4 separate regions of the Homo sapiens genome follow, and all the other regions are linked to region 1. The links are contacts of gene promoters, found by promoter capture Hi-C in human tissues and cell types (Jung and others, 2019). All regions are on one chromosome and are shown on one strand. Each heading gives the region's core, a stretch centred on a gene start or on the middle of the fragment in contact. The rest is flanking DNA. Distances are from core to core; before and after follow the strand shown. Region 1 holds the start of PHLDB1 (pleckstrin homology like domain family B member 1). Region 2 overlaps KMT2A (lysine methyltransferase 2A). Region 3 overlaps UBE4A (ubiquitination factor E4A). Region 4 overlaps ATP5MG (ATP synthase membrane subunit g).

What was found. Contacts are between HindIII fragments. The study calls those that stand out against the background at their distance.
Region 2: a contact is called between a fragment that was not itself captured here and the fragment with the promoter of PHLDB1 in region 1, in 1 of the 25 tissues and cell types used here (hippocampus).
Region 3: a fragment that was not itself captured here is called in contact with the fragment with the promoter of PHLDB1 in region 1 in 1 of the 25 tissues and cell types used here (liver).
Region 4: a fragment that was not itself captured here is called in contact with the fragment with the promoter of PHLDB1 in region 1 in 1 of the 25 tissues and cell types used here (pancreas).

The regions. Positions count from the first base shown.
Region 1 is chr11:118,606,243-118,609,386 of GRCh38, reverse strand. PHLDB1 (pleckstrin homology like domain family B member 1) reads right to left here and starts at 1,772. Exons shown (of 23, transcript NM_001144758.3): 1 at 1,688-1,772. It overlaps LOC124902765 (a long non-coding RNA gene), which reads left to right and starts at 876. Exons shown (of 2, transcript XR_007062908.1): 1 at 876-1,264; 2 at 2,199-3,144. RefSeq lists enhancers at 1-601, 639-933 and silencers at 1,061-1,130, 1,191-1,280. The HindIII fragment of the contact is 15,479 bases long and covers 1-3,144 here.
Region 2 is chr11:118,441,920-118,445,171 of GRCh38, reverse strand. The region is part of intron 1 of KMT2A (lysine methyltransferase 2A); the gene reads right to left. Among named protein-coding and RNA genes, the nearest start is that of KMT2A, 7.1 kb to the right of the region's middle. The HindIII fragment of the contact is 5,184 bases long and covers 1-3,252 here.
Region 3 is chr11:118,382,195-118,385,225 of GRCh38, reverse strand. It overlaps UBE4A (ubiquitination factor E4A), which reads right to left. Exons shown (of 20, transcript NM_001204077.2): 13 at 2,450-2,637; 14 at 491-591; 15 at 281-394. The region is part of intron 3 of LOC100131626 (a long non-coding RNA gene); the gene reads left to right. Among named protein-coding and RNA genes, the nearest start is that of ATP5MG, 18 kb to the left of the region's middle. The HindIII fragment of the contact is 4,714 bases long and covers 1-3,031 here.
Region 4 is chr11:118,408,210-118,411,155 of GRCh38, reverse strand. It overlaps ATP5MG (ATP synthase membrane subunit g), which reads right to left. Exons shown (of 3, transcript NM_006476.5): 3 at 1,309-2,156. The coding sequence ends at 2,058. The region is part of intron 3 of LOC100131626 (a long non-coding RNA gene); the gene reads left to right. Among named protein-coding and RNA genes, the nearest start is that of ATP5MG, 8.1 kb to the right of the region's middle. The HindIII fragment of the contact is 5,814 bases long and covers 1-2,946 here.

The sequences.
Region 1 (3,144 bases), core at 523-3,022:
ATTGAGCTGAGCTGTGTGTGTGATAGGCTGTGTGTGTGATGGGCTGTGTGTGTGAGCTGGGCTGTGTGTGTAAGCTGGGCTGTGTGTGTAACTGGGGCTGTGTGTGTGAGCTGGGCTGTGTATTGAGCTGAGCTGTGTGTGTGACGGGCTGCGTGTGTGAGCTGGGCTGTGTGTGTATAACTGGGGCTGTGTGTGTGAGCTGGGCTGTGTGTGTGACGGGCTGCTTGTGTGAGCTGGGCTGTGTGTGTGAGCTGGGCTGTGTGTGTGACGGGCTGCTTGCATGAGCTGGGCTGTGTAACTGGGGCAGTGTGTGTGAGCTGGGCTTCGTGTGTGAGCTGGGGCCTCGTGTTTGACTGGGGTGTGTGTGTGAGAGCTGGGGCTGCGTGTGTGAGCTGGGCTTCGTGTGTGAGCTGGGGCCTCATGTGTGACGGGTACGTGTGTGAGCTGGGTTGTGTGTGTGACTGGGGTGCGTGTGTGAGGTAGGCTGTGTGACTGGGGTGCATGTGTGAGCTGGGGCGCGTGTAAGCGGGGCTGCGGGTGTGAGGGGCTGCGTGAGCGCGGGGCGCTTTCCTGTGAGGCGTAAGGCATGGAGTGCGTGGGAAGGCCTCGGCGTGTGGGCGGGTCCGGGTGTGTCTGGGTGGCGTGACGCAGGGACGTAGGTGTGCGAAGTGTCGCGGAGGCGTGCGTGTGTGCCGCGTGGGAGCCCGGCGTGGTGGGGCGCCTGCGTTTGCGTTTGACGGCTGGGGGGTGAGCCCGCCGCCCGATGAGTCAGCCTCGGGAGGCTCCAGGACCGCTGAGCTAACGGCCCAGAATGCAGCCCCGCCCCAGAGCCGTGGGTCCCCGGCAGGGCTGTGCGGTCGCCCGGCCAAGTCCCCACTCGAGCCTGCCTCGGCGGAAGCGCTAGCGGGCGACTCGGCCACCCTGCGCCGGCGCCCCTACCCAGCCGCCCGCCCGCACTTCCCTATCCCGGGGGAGCCCGGATGACTTGGGTCAGCCTCCGCTCGGGGAACTCCGCTAGGGATTCCAATAGGGACCGCGCGGGCGTGGCAAGGCGCCCCAGGCGGCCTCCCCGGCCCCCGAGGACGTGGGGCCTTGGGGAGTGCCTGGGAGGCCCCAGGCGGGCTTCCCATCTCCTGGACACCCCCAGGCAGCCCTCCTAGACGCTCAAGACTCTGAGCCGGACTCCGAATCCCTTCCTGGTCCATCAAGGCGGCCGGCCTGGGGACAGGCGGGGAGACGTCACAGGAGATACCCCCGCCCCAAGGTCCTGCTGTGGGCGGAGAGGGGGAGGTGTGGGGCGCTGGAGGACGAAAACCCGCGCGCGCGCTCGCCGCCCGATACCCCGCGAGTGTCCGCCCGGCCGCCTGGGTGCCGGCGGGAGAGTCTGGATAGGGCCAGGATCAGAGTTTCTCCAAGGGGGGGAGAGCGTCACGGCCCCCTCTGGCGGTGGCGTTGGCAGCGGCCGAGGAAGGCAAAAGCAAGAGGCTCACAGGAAAACTCCCCATAACGCTCCTTTCGCCCCCACGCACTCACCTGGGGTGCCCTCTCTCCCCCACGGGTTTCTGCCGAGCTCCCTAGCCTAGAGCTGATCTCAGGGCTCTCGCCAGGCCCCGGGGACTTCCCCTTATCCAGTCCTAGCACCGCAGCGAATGGGACCCGCAAGTGTAGTGGGACGGGGCGCTCTTACCTAGAGGTGGGGGGGGGGCAGGGAGACACTGGTCCCTTAGCCTGGCTCGGCTCGGTCGCGGTGGCCTCAGGCTTAGGAGGACACCGTTGCTTTTCCCCGGGAGCTCGCTAAGTAGGAGGAGAGCGAGCCTGTCCCGCCCCCCTCCCGCCAGTCCCCGCCCCCGTCCCCCGTCCCGTCCGCCTGGCCAGCCAAAGAAGACGCCCTTGTGGGGCTGGAGCCCAAGGTCCCCCCACCCACCCTTTCCCACAGCAGCACCTCCCCCAGCCTGCACAGCGCCCGCTTTGTTCATCTTTGCAGCTGGGCTCTCCACCATCACCACCACCACCACCACCACCACCACCACCACCACCACCACCACCACCACCACCACACATCCCCCTCTCCTCCCACCCTGCCCTCCCGACTCTCCTAGACCACCCTCCACTCCCAGGCTTTAACACGCTTTTGAGAGGGTGTTTTTGACAATCCGTTCTCCCTCCCCCAAACTCTCCCCTCTTTCTTTTTGCCTTAGATGCCTGAAACCTCCACGGGCTCCCACTGAACCTCCCAAATCGAAGCCCCTACAACATGCTCTCAACATCTCCAGAACATCTACTGAGGGTACCCAGGTCTTCTCCCTGTCACCTCCTCCCCTCGCCCTATTCCAAGCCCCACCATGAAGAGCTGTAAATGACATTGATAGCCACGCACATCAGGCTTCACAGACTTTCTTAAGGATAGGCACAAGAAGACTCGTTAAAGTGTCATGCAAACTCCAAAGCACAGGAAAACCGAATGGAATTATCATCTTGCCCCCATGGAGCTCCACACCCCTCCACCCCGACAGACTTGCTGGATTACAGATTGGGAGATGGAGGCAGGCTATAGACATACAATTGAGCACACCAACCTGTAGTAGGAGTGGGAGTTAATAAGGAAGAGAAGGAGGCACTAAACACCTAAAAGCAGCCCCCAAATTGAGCTAGGTTGAAGTCATTCTCCATCTCAACCTCCACTCCGAAATCCAACGCTGACAGTGGATCCTTACCTTGCAAAGCCAGCTCTTGGTCCAGGAGACTGGCTGGGGAGGCCCTAGGGAGCTGAACTCAGCTGGACTGGACTTCTTTGACCTGCACTAGAGGGACCCTGGAGACTCTTCTTCACTGAAGGAAGGAGCAGAAAGCCTGTAAGTCTGGTCTAAATTCCAGCTGGGGTGGATAGCAAAAAATAATTTATCCTCTTTGAGATGGACAAGTGCTGTTCTAATTCAATGAGTTTAGTTTGTGCCGTCTCTCCCTAACCCAGGAACAGCAGGAGGCTGAACTACAGGAATCTCTGGTCACTCATTGACAGGGCTGGCCTTAGCAGGGGACCCCCCACGGCTGGAGACTGAAGCTGACCGGGGCCAAGCAGCAGACAAGGAGGGGGAGGGGAGAGGCCGCCCTTTGCTGCCACCTGCTATAGCTAATGGAGGTGGA
Region 2 (3,252 bases), core at 296-2,795, 160 kb after region 1:
GACTAATATCAAGAACATTCTAAGATTATAGCACTCAAATAGGTGTATGTATGCATACATATACAGGTATAACTTAATGTAATAAAAACCAGTTATTTTGATGAAAAAAAAAGATTATAACCCTGCTCTCCTTTCAATCTCTTGGTTCTAACAATTAGGGCTTCCTATGTGCCAGGCAAAATGCTAAGTGCTTACATGCATGATCTCACTTAAGCCTCACAATGAGACTATGAAGCATGAGTACCTCTCAGTTACAAATGAAGAAACAGAGGTATGGAGAGGTTCAAAAACTTTTCTGGTTGGGTGCAGTGCCTCACATTTGTAATCCCAACACTTTGGGAGGCTGAGGTAGGGGGACCACTTGAGGCCAGGAGTTCAAGACCAACCTGGGCAACATGGTGAGACTCCCATCTCTACAACAAATAAAACAATTAGCTGAGTGTGGTGGTGCATGCCTGTAGTCCCAGCTACTTAGGAGGCTGAGACAAGAGGATTGCTTGAGCCCTGGAGGTTGAGGCTGAAATGAAATGTTTGTGCCATTACACTCTAGCCTAGGCAACAAAGCAAGATCCTGTCTCAAACAAACCAAACAAAACACAAAAAAAACTTTTTCAAGATGGCTGAGCTTAGATTTGAACTCAGGCAGTTTAAATCCAGAGCCCATGGTCTTAACAACTCTTAATTACTATGCTAAACGATCTCACACCACTACAGATTAGATTATGAGATTCTCCCTTTCTTCTGTAAAGGTATTTATATATGCACAAATAAAAAATCCTAGCCAAAGAGATTACAAAAGGATTTCCTCATTAGCTAAGCTTAAAGAGATGTTATCCACAAGGTTTTACTGCTTATAATTAAAGGCAATAATCTAGGGACAATGTTTGTGTTTGATCTAAAAAGTGGTCAATCCTCATGGATGGACAGAAGTTGAATATGGGCATGTGTAAATATTTCTTTCTCTAGGTGTAGGATATTTATTAGAGATAAGAATTAACTTTTCCCTAGTGTTTAGAACTGAGATAGTATAAAGGACAGCCTAAAGAAAAAACTATTCTCCAAAACCCTTCTCACAAGTAATATCACTCTCCTAATTCAAGACAGAAAGCTACCATTACCTTGATGCTGTAAAATAAGAATGAAACAATGATGCTTCAGCAAAGCATAGATAATACAAGTGGATCTCTCTAAAACAGTATGAATGTTAGAAAGATTCATATCTTTTGTTGCTGAAAGACATCAAAACATCTATACCCAAACATCCCAACAAAACACAAAACCAGAAATGCAAGAAAATGGATAAAACACTATATACGGAAGAAACTCCAGCTCCTGAAATAAATGCTACTGGACCGATGCTGCCCACTGGTACTTCACAGGGTACTGCTGCAGCAATAATTGAAGGTAAGATATCTGGGGAAATCCCTTCAGTCTATTTGTCAAATAGAAAAACAACTACTCATTTCAAGGGAAGGGGAATTTTCATACACTGCACACAAAACTGCCAACTAACTCTTATATCTTTGTTGTTTCCTTAAAACTAAAACTCATTAGGGCAATACATTCAATTCAACATCTAAAAGTTAAACCAAGCTTGGCCTCTTAGAAGTTTTGGACTAATCCTTCAAGGGGATTTATATCATCCACAACAATTACAAATCACGTAACAAAATTCTTCTTTCAAATGTCTTAAGTCTTTAGAAGCGAATGTTTGGCAGCAGCTACAGTCTCATGGTTGGCTTCCCCTGGTGTGTAACCTGACAAGGTAAAAAACTCATTGAAATATTTAACAGTGGTGGTATGGATTTCTTTGGATAGGTCAAGAAAAGCGGCTCATCATTTTAAAAACATAAAGAACCATTTTATGGGAAGTCATTCCCTCAGTCCAAGTGTCTCTGTATTTCCTCAGGGTTTTTGCAGAGACTTTATTGAGGGGCAAAATGAAAAGGCTAACAAAAGGACCCCTTTTTCCTCCCTATTCCCAGCATAATCTACCTCAGCCACAGGGCCAGTAGCATCCACACTGTCATAAATGCCAGCAATTAGAGAATTAGGCCATAAAACCACCCACTCAGGTATAAGAGTGCAGGCCTCCAGCTTTATTTAATGCATGCCATAAAAGATCCTGTACTTCCTTCTCCCAGGCCTTCTTCAACAACCAATGAAATGACAATAACAACAACAAAAATAGCCCTTTGTCTGCGTAACCTCATACTGATGTGATCAATGAAGCCATCTGGGTCCAGGTAAAGGACTTAAGATTCCTTTTTCTTAATAAAAGATAGCATTTTCTCTAGCATGCCACATGTAGATCTAGTAAAGAACATACTGTATTTTGAATACGAAGGTCCTGGAAACTAAAGTCAAACTACTTTTTCCAGAAAAGCTATTTTATCTTATTCTGAAAATACTCTAGAAGCCTAGACAATTCCTGAAAATCTCAAGAAATAGTGGAGCCTACAAGGGTATTCTTAATTAACTCAACAATTTCCAGAACCTCCTAAAGTCTTTCTAATCAAAAGTTAACTCAGATCTGAAAGCTAACTTTAATTCAGTCTGTGTCTCAAAGCCGATACAACTTAGGAGCAATCAATAATTTCATCTGATTGTCTTGTCTTCAACAACCTCAGAGTCCACAAAAATCACGAGTCTGAGATTTACTCCACGACAATATTTTACTCATCAAGTTTCATAAACCAGTCTAGATAAGATCCAAGGAAATACTTTGTAACAGTGAACTCTGTGGCATCCTCTTTCCTACTAGTGCCTACAGGGTTAAGAATCTGATTAAAATGTAGGTACATCATGCCAGACTCATTAGTAATTTAACCTTTCTTAATCCCTGAAAATAACATATGCAAACAAAGGAAGGTCCCATCCCAGCAATCCTCGAATAAATTCCTCCCAAAGTAGTGATAGTCACAAAGCTTCCCCCTTCTCAAAGGTCTATGCCACTGGGCTCTCCACCTTGGCAGAGGAAGAATGGAAAGAGACAAGATATTCACAAAAGGCCCGATTGAAGGCCTTCAGTTAAGTGCTAGAAGGAAGCTGAAGCTCTGTGCCAACACTAGTGGAATGTGGGCAGGCACAAAGAGATCTTAATTAGGAGACCTACAATTAAAACACAGCGAGTTTCCAAAAGAGAGAGGCACTGCAGTCTGTTATGCCTCTGAGCAAGCAAAGCACTGTTGCCACCCCCTCTAGCCACAGGGTAAGGGAGGCAATTGGTATAGAGTCTGCACAGCTGCCCCA
Region 3 (3,031 bases), core at 404-2,903, 220 kb after region 1:
ACAACTTAGTTTGGCTTCACCATATGGTATTTTTGACTCTGCCAAAATGTCCATCTCATGATGCTTCAATGACCCTTGATCTTGGTCTCTAATGGAATGAACTAGAAAGCTCTATAATGACAAGCTTGGTGGTACACTACTAATCACAAATTTTTGGTGTTCAAGTCTGGTACTAGGGGCATAAGGACTGCTCTATTATGATTAAAAGGTAAAATGTATGTACTGCTGATGATTTGATGGTATGGAGAAGTTAAATCTTTTTTTTTTTTTTTTTTTTTACCTGTATGGCTTCATCCAAAAGGAAGATGGCATCATTCATTAGCAGGTTAAGAAAGCGGAGGAAAAGTGGGGGATTCATGGCTTCTAAATTCTTAGAGGCATAGTCAGCCAAATCCTGTAAGTCCCAGCCCACAAGAAAACCATTTTAGTACTGAATTACAACTCATTAGGGCTTATATAAAGCAACAGGTTTCATCAAAAACTCTCTCACCTTAATGCTCTCCCGATAGGTATCTGTCCCCCACATGTATCTTAGGATAGGATACATGGGACGGCGGTAATTAAACTTCTGTTCAAATTGATGGGGGTCTCCTGGAGTAAGGCAAGAGCGAAATATCAGCAAAGGCGGTGCCATAAGAGGAAGAGTTTATGCTTATGTGTAGCCATTTGCTTTGTAGTCATTTGCTTTTGAGTGTGTTAAGGCTACTAACAAAATCTGCCCTGGAGTTTCTAAAGGCCTAGAGTTATCGCCAAGTGTTTGCTCATTTCCTTACTGATGAAGTAAGGGGGAGACAGAGATAAAGGATACCTTACTCTGCAAGAGACAAGTACCAAGCTGTAAAATAAAAGTTAAGGGAAACAAATGTTTCCATATCCAAACATGAGTACTTCTCAGGCTTTAAATGAGGGCTCAGGGCTGGCCATTATGGCAGTGAAAGCCATGTGCAGGACGGGACACTAAGCAATTCCCACATTCTTCACAGACAATATCCCAAACTGTGTAGCCAACAGGTTCTTGATTACTCTGAAAAATCAGGTCAGGAGCTAAAAATCTGAGGCTTATACTGCTTTTGAAATACCAAAGGTATTACTAGAGCTCCACAGGCTGGGTCATAATAAAGGAAGAGTGTAGGATTTGGAGTCAAAAGACCTACGTTTTCATTCTGGCTCTGCTTAATCTAAGTCTCTTAATCTTCTTCAGCTTCCACTTCCTCAGAAATAAAACAGAAATTGTACTCCATTACAACACTTTGGTTGTATGGTCACATAACGAGATAACTGCAATGATTTATTATACAATTTCTTATGTATTATAAAGATTTACATGCATTATTTCACTTAATCATCACTTTGACCCATTTTATAGATGAGGAAACTAAGGTTGATAGGTGAGCGAATTAAAAAAAACCAGAATCCAAATATGGAAAGGCGGCCAGTAAAATGTTAAATGCCTCTTTAAATGTTAGTTGTATTTATCATTGGATGGTAGATATCCCTTTAAAAAATGGTCTTCAACAACTTCTTAACATATCTTATTTACTGATTGAGACAGGGTACTGTTTAAACAAACACAGGGGCTCAGGGTTAGATAGAGAGGGAATGTTGCCTGCTGGTTTTTTTTTTTTTTTTTTTTTTTTGAGAGGGATTTCTTGCTCTGTCATCCAGGCTGGAGTGGTGCGATCTCAGCTCACTGCCACCTCTGCCTCCCGAATTCAAGCAATTCTCGTGCCTCTGCCTCCTAAGTAGCTGGGATTACAGGCACCTGCCACCATGCCTGGGTAATTTTTGTATTTTTGTAGAGAATGGGTTTCACCATGTTGGCCAGGCTGGTCTCAAACTCAGGAGCTCAAGTGATCTGCCTACTTTGGCCTCCCAAAACGCTGGGATTACAAGCATGAGCCACTGTGCCTGTCCGCCTGCTGGTATTTTTAATCGAACCATTAGACTGTTGGAGAGTTAGATAGTCTGGTTAAGATAAAAGAATCTCTCAACCAATACACTGCCTCTTTATGCACTATTCTGTAATTTTAAGGCAGAGAAATATAAAGACCCAAATAGTCTAATTTGAGTCTGATTTGATGATGCAACATAATAAGGGTGTTGAATATGTAGATTTCTTTAGGTGACACAGACCTGATTCTACCACTTGGTAGTTTGTTATGACATGGACAAACTGATCTTTTGGGCAGTCATGTCTTCATATGTAAAACAAGAATAATTAAAAAATAAAAAATAAATAAAACAGGGATAATAGAGTGAAACTTTTCCAATGGTGACAATGGGATAATGTTAAAAAAAAAAAAAAAGCACTTATCATCAAGCCTGGCATATAGTAGGTATTCAATAAGTAATGGCTTGACATTTCTTTGATATCCAAATACGGATCAAACTATGAAACTCCACTGGTATCAGCTTCCCAGTTCTGGGCTCAGCTTCATGACTGCTTTACCTGTAAATTCGATGTCCACAAAAACCTTGATTAGAGCCTCTGCAAGTTGGGGTGCATACTGAAAGTTGCAGAACACACGTTTCCGGTGGAACACACTGGATACCAAGGGATTTGGGGTCTGATCCAGGTGGGGCATCACTGCTTCCAACACCTCTGCTAGTTTGGCCCTCAGGTGGGGATTCTTCATTCTGCAAAATGGGCAAAAAGCAAGATGAGCAGATAAGCTTAACTCCAAATTTATGACTCTGTTCTCTCCACATAAGAATCAAAATCCACCCTAAACCATATTACAGGAAAAAAAAGGATCCACTTCTGCAGTTTTAAGTTTGTCAGTTTCTTGGTGCGGCTGGGCGGGGGGTGGGGTGGTGATGCAGGGTACATCATTTAACTCTTGAGTTGACAGCTTACCAAATATGACGGTGAGCACTTAAGTTTCTATTGAATGCTTAGCCATTGTTTACTTCTCTGTAATAATGCATTATTTACTGCTTCCTATTCTCTGACAGTTTCATGTGGAATAAACTTGCCTTTTCAAGCTTTCTGAGGGTAAAGACTAGAATATAATTATGCTACATTACCCAT
Region 4 (2,946 bases), core at 279-2,778, 200 kb after region 1:
CACTGCAACCTCCACCTCCCAGGTTCAAGTGATTCTACTGCCTCAGCCTCCCGAGTAGCTGGGACTACAGGTGTGTGCCACCACGCCTGGCTAATTTTTGTGTTTTTAGTAGAGACAGGGTTTCACTATATTGGCCAGGCTGGTCTCAAACTCCTGACCTCATGATCTGCCCGCCTTGGCCTCCCAAAGTGCTGGGATTACAGGTGTGAGCCACTGCACCCTGCCCTGGGTTAGCCTTTCAAGTATACCTTCCCCTTCCCTCATTATAGTACTTCTCACATCTTATTACAGTAATTGCATGCCTAATTACCTGTCTTACCAGATCAAACTCTGTGAAACAGGTAACAGTCTTGTTCATGAATGTTTCTGCCATTTTAATTGTGCCTAGAACTTAGGAGGTGCACAATAAACACCGAGTTTGCCAATGCCAAACACTTGGCAGCACACATTCATTGAAAGCCTCAACAGTTCTGTTAGAAGATATTTGGGGTTGATGAGGACAAAAAAAAAAAAAAAAAAAAAGAGAAACAAGCCTGGTGAAGTCAAGTGGCCACTTCAAGGAGCTCACTGCTATTTTAACCTAAGAAAATTCCGTACATGCACTATTAGCCACAGGGGAGACCAGAGGTGTTGTGTATGGCAAAGCAGGAGGAAGTTGCAGTGAAGTGAGTAGTAAATGTTTATTTTGAGGACCTTCTGGTGTGACCGTGGCGTTAAAAACAATCACATTACATATCATTAATCAACTAGGTGTCTGTAGGTTTTAACTAGTACTAGCTGATCTCCTACCTTGTTTTTTTCTGGTTAATTTGAATAATCATGCACTGTATGAAAAAGAAACTGATTGCCTTTCTCATATCAGTCTTTTTGAGTACTTTTTGAAAAGAGGTCATTTCAGTTTTGACCACCTGTTTATTGCAGGAGTAAGTTAGGCATTACTTCACATTTTAGCAGCGTGGCAGTCTCTATGGAGACTTTCTTGCCTATCACTTAGATAAGCTGTGACGTTTATTAGGCTAAAATAGCAGTGTTCTAAATGCAGTGGGTAAATTTGGGATTGACCGGATAAAGGTTCAACACTATTAAAGGATTAATACTGTATTGTGAGCCATAATGCTTTTGTAATAAATATGCAACCACCTTTTGGTTATCATCAGTTGGTATTGCATGTTTTGCTGTGGCTGCAAGAATAACAGTGGATTTAGGAAAGTACCAATGAGTCAATTAAGGATTCTAAGATCCCGGGGAAAAGCTAAGGAATGATCAATCTCTCCTATATACCCAATAAAATCGCTCCAGAAGACAGACTATAGCAATCATTTCATTTATTTCAGGATATAATATACTATTTAGATCCAGGGAAGATGCTAAATTATAACCTTGTTTAAATATCTTTGGGGTATTTTGTTTTTGCAAAGGTAGTAAAACCAGACAAACGAATAACACACATAAAAATCAGATTTCACATGTATGGCTCTGTCCTACTGCTAAAGATGTTACAAAGAAACATACTTAGAATACCACCCTGTTCTCTCTTGGGGAGGCTATATTCAAGATGACAAGTACTCTAACATTTTTACAGACATAGATGTTGTCAATAGGGTCTTTCTGTGATTTTAGCAAAGAAAACAGTTGAAATGTTATTCTAACTACTGACATGATTCATCTCTATCACTTTGGCATATGGTACTACTATTTCTTCTACTTTGGCAAGTTATAGTTTTCCCAAGACCTAACCCTCACTGTTCTGGAAATAAAGCTTAAATATATATATTCCAAACCTTCAAATTAAAATGTTATCCCCATATATTCATGTACCAGGTTAATATTGCCACATATATCCTTTCCAATTGCGGGCTAAACAGACGTGTATTTAGGGTTGTTTAAAGACAACCCAGCTTAATATCAAGAGAAATTGTGACCTTTCATGGAGTATCTGATGGAGAAAACACTGAGTTTTGACAAATCTTATTTTATTCAGATAGCAGTCTGATCACACATGGTCCAACAACACTCAAATAATAAATCAAATATAATCAGATGTTAAAGATTGGTCTTCAAACATCATAGCCAATGATGCCCCGCTTGCCTATAATCTCTCCGACATAAAACCACATCAACACCTCAGTGGCCACCAAACCATTCAGCACAGCTTCCTGAAAAAAGAAGCATACATTTTAAGGTACCTTTTATATATATATATAATTATATATATATATATATATTTGAAACTATTCTTTTCCAGAATTAAGGAGACAAAGAACATAAAAGATGCTATTCAAACTAGAAGGCAGTTTTAGTCAAAGTTGAGAATTACTAACATTACTTCTCTTCAACTGCTGAGAACCCTTGAACTTTCAATTTTGTAAGGTAAGTAGTCAAAGCTTATATAAATTCTTTCAAAGCATTCTTTAAAGACCTGAACTGACTTAACCCTTTCATTATAAGTTTATGAGACACTTTATGAGCCCTAAAACAATCCACATCCTGGATATAGCTGGCGCATTTAGATAGGATGGCTATAGGAAGGCCGAGTCTCTGAATAGACATTTTTGTCTGGCAAAAGAAAATCTGCTGAAAGATGAAGTGCTGTCTTCCCCTTTAGACCTCATTTTTATTCATTCAGTATTTGACTTAACTCTGACTAAGTATCTGGTATTCATATCAACATTTTGTTGTCCCAAAGAGAAATATGCACATATGGCTCAGGAAAGCACTGTTATTAATACATGGAGCAATAATATGGATCTTGAAATTCTAGTTGAAAAAATAACTTTCCATAACAAAACTGGACCTTTTCCTTTTAGCACTTCTGGAAGTGAATTTTCCCCATCAAATTAGACCAGAAATTTATGGAAGTCTTCTGAAAAACAACCACACTTCCCAGGATGTAGGCTCTAAAACTAGCAATTGTTTAGGCTTTTTGTACTCTGTGCTTGGATCATG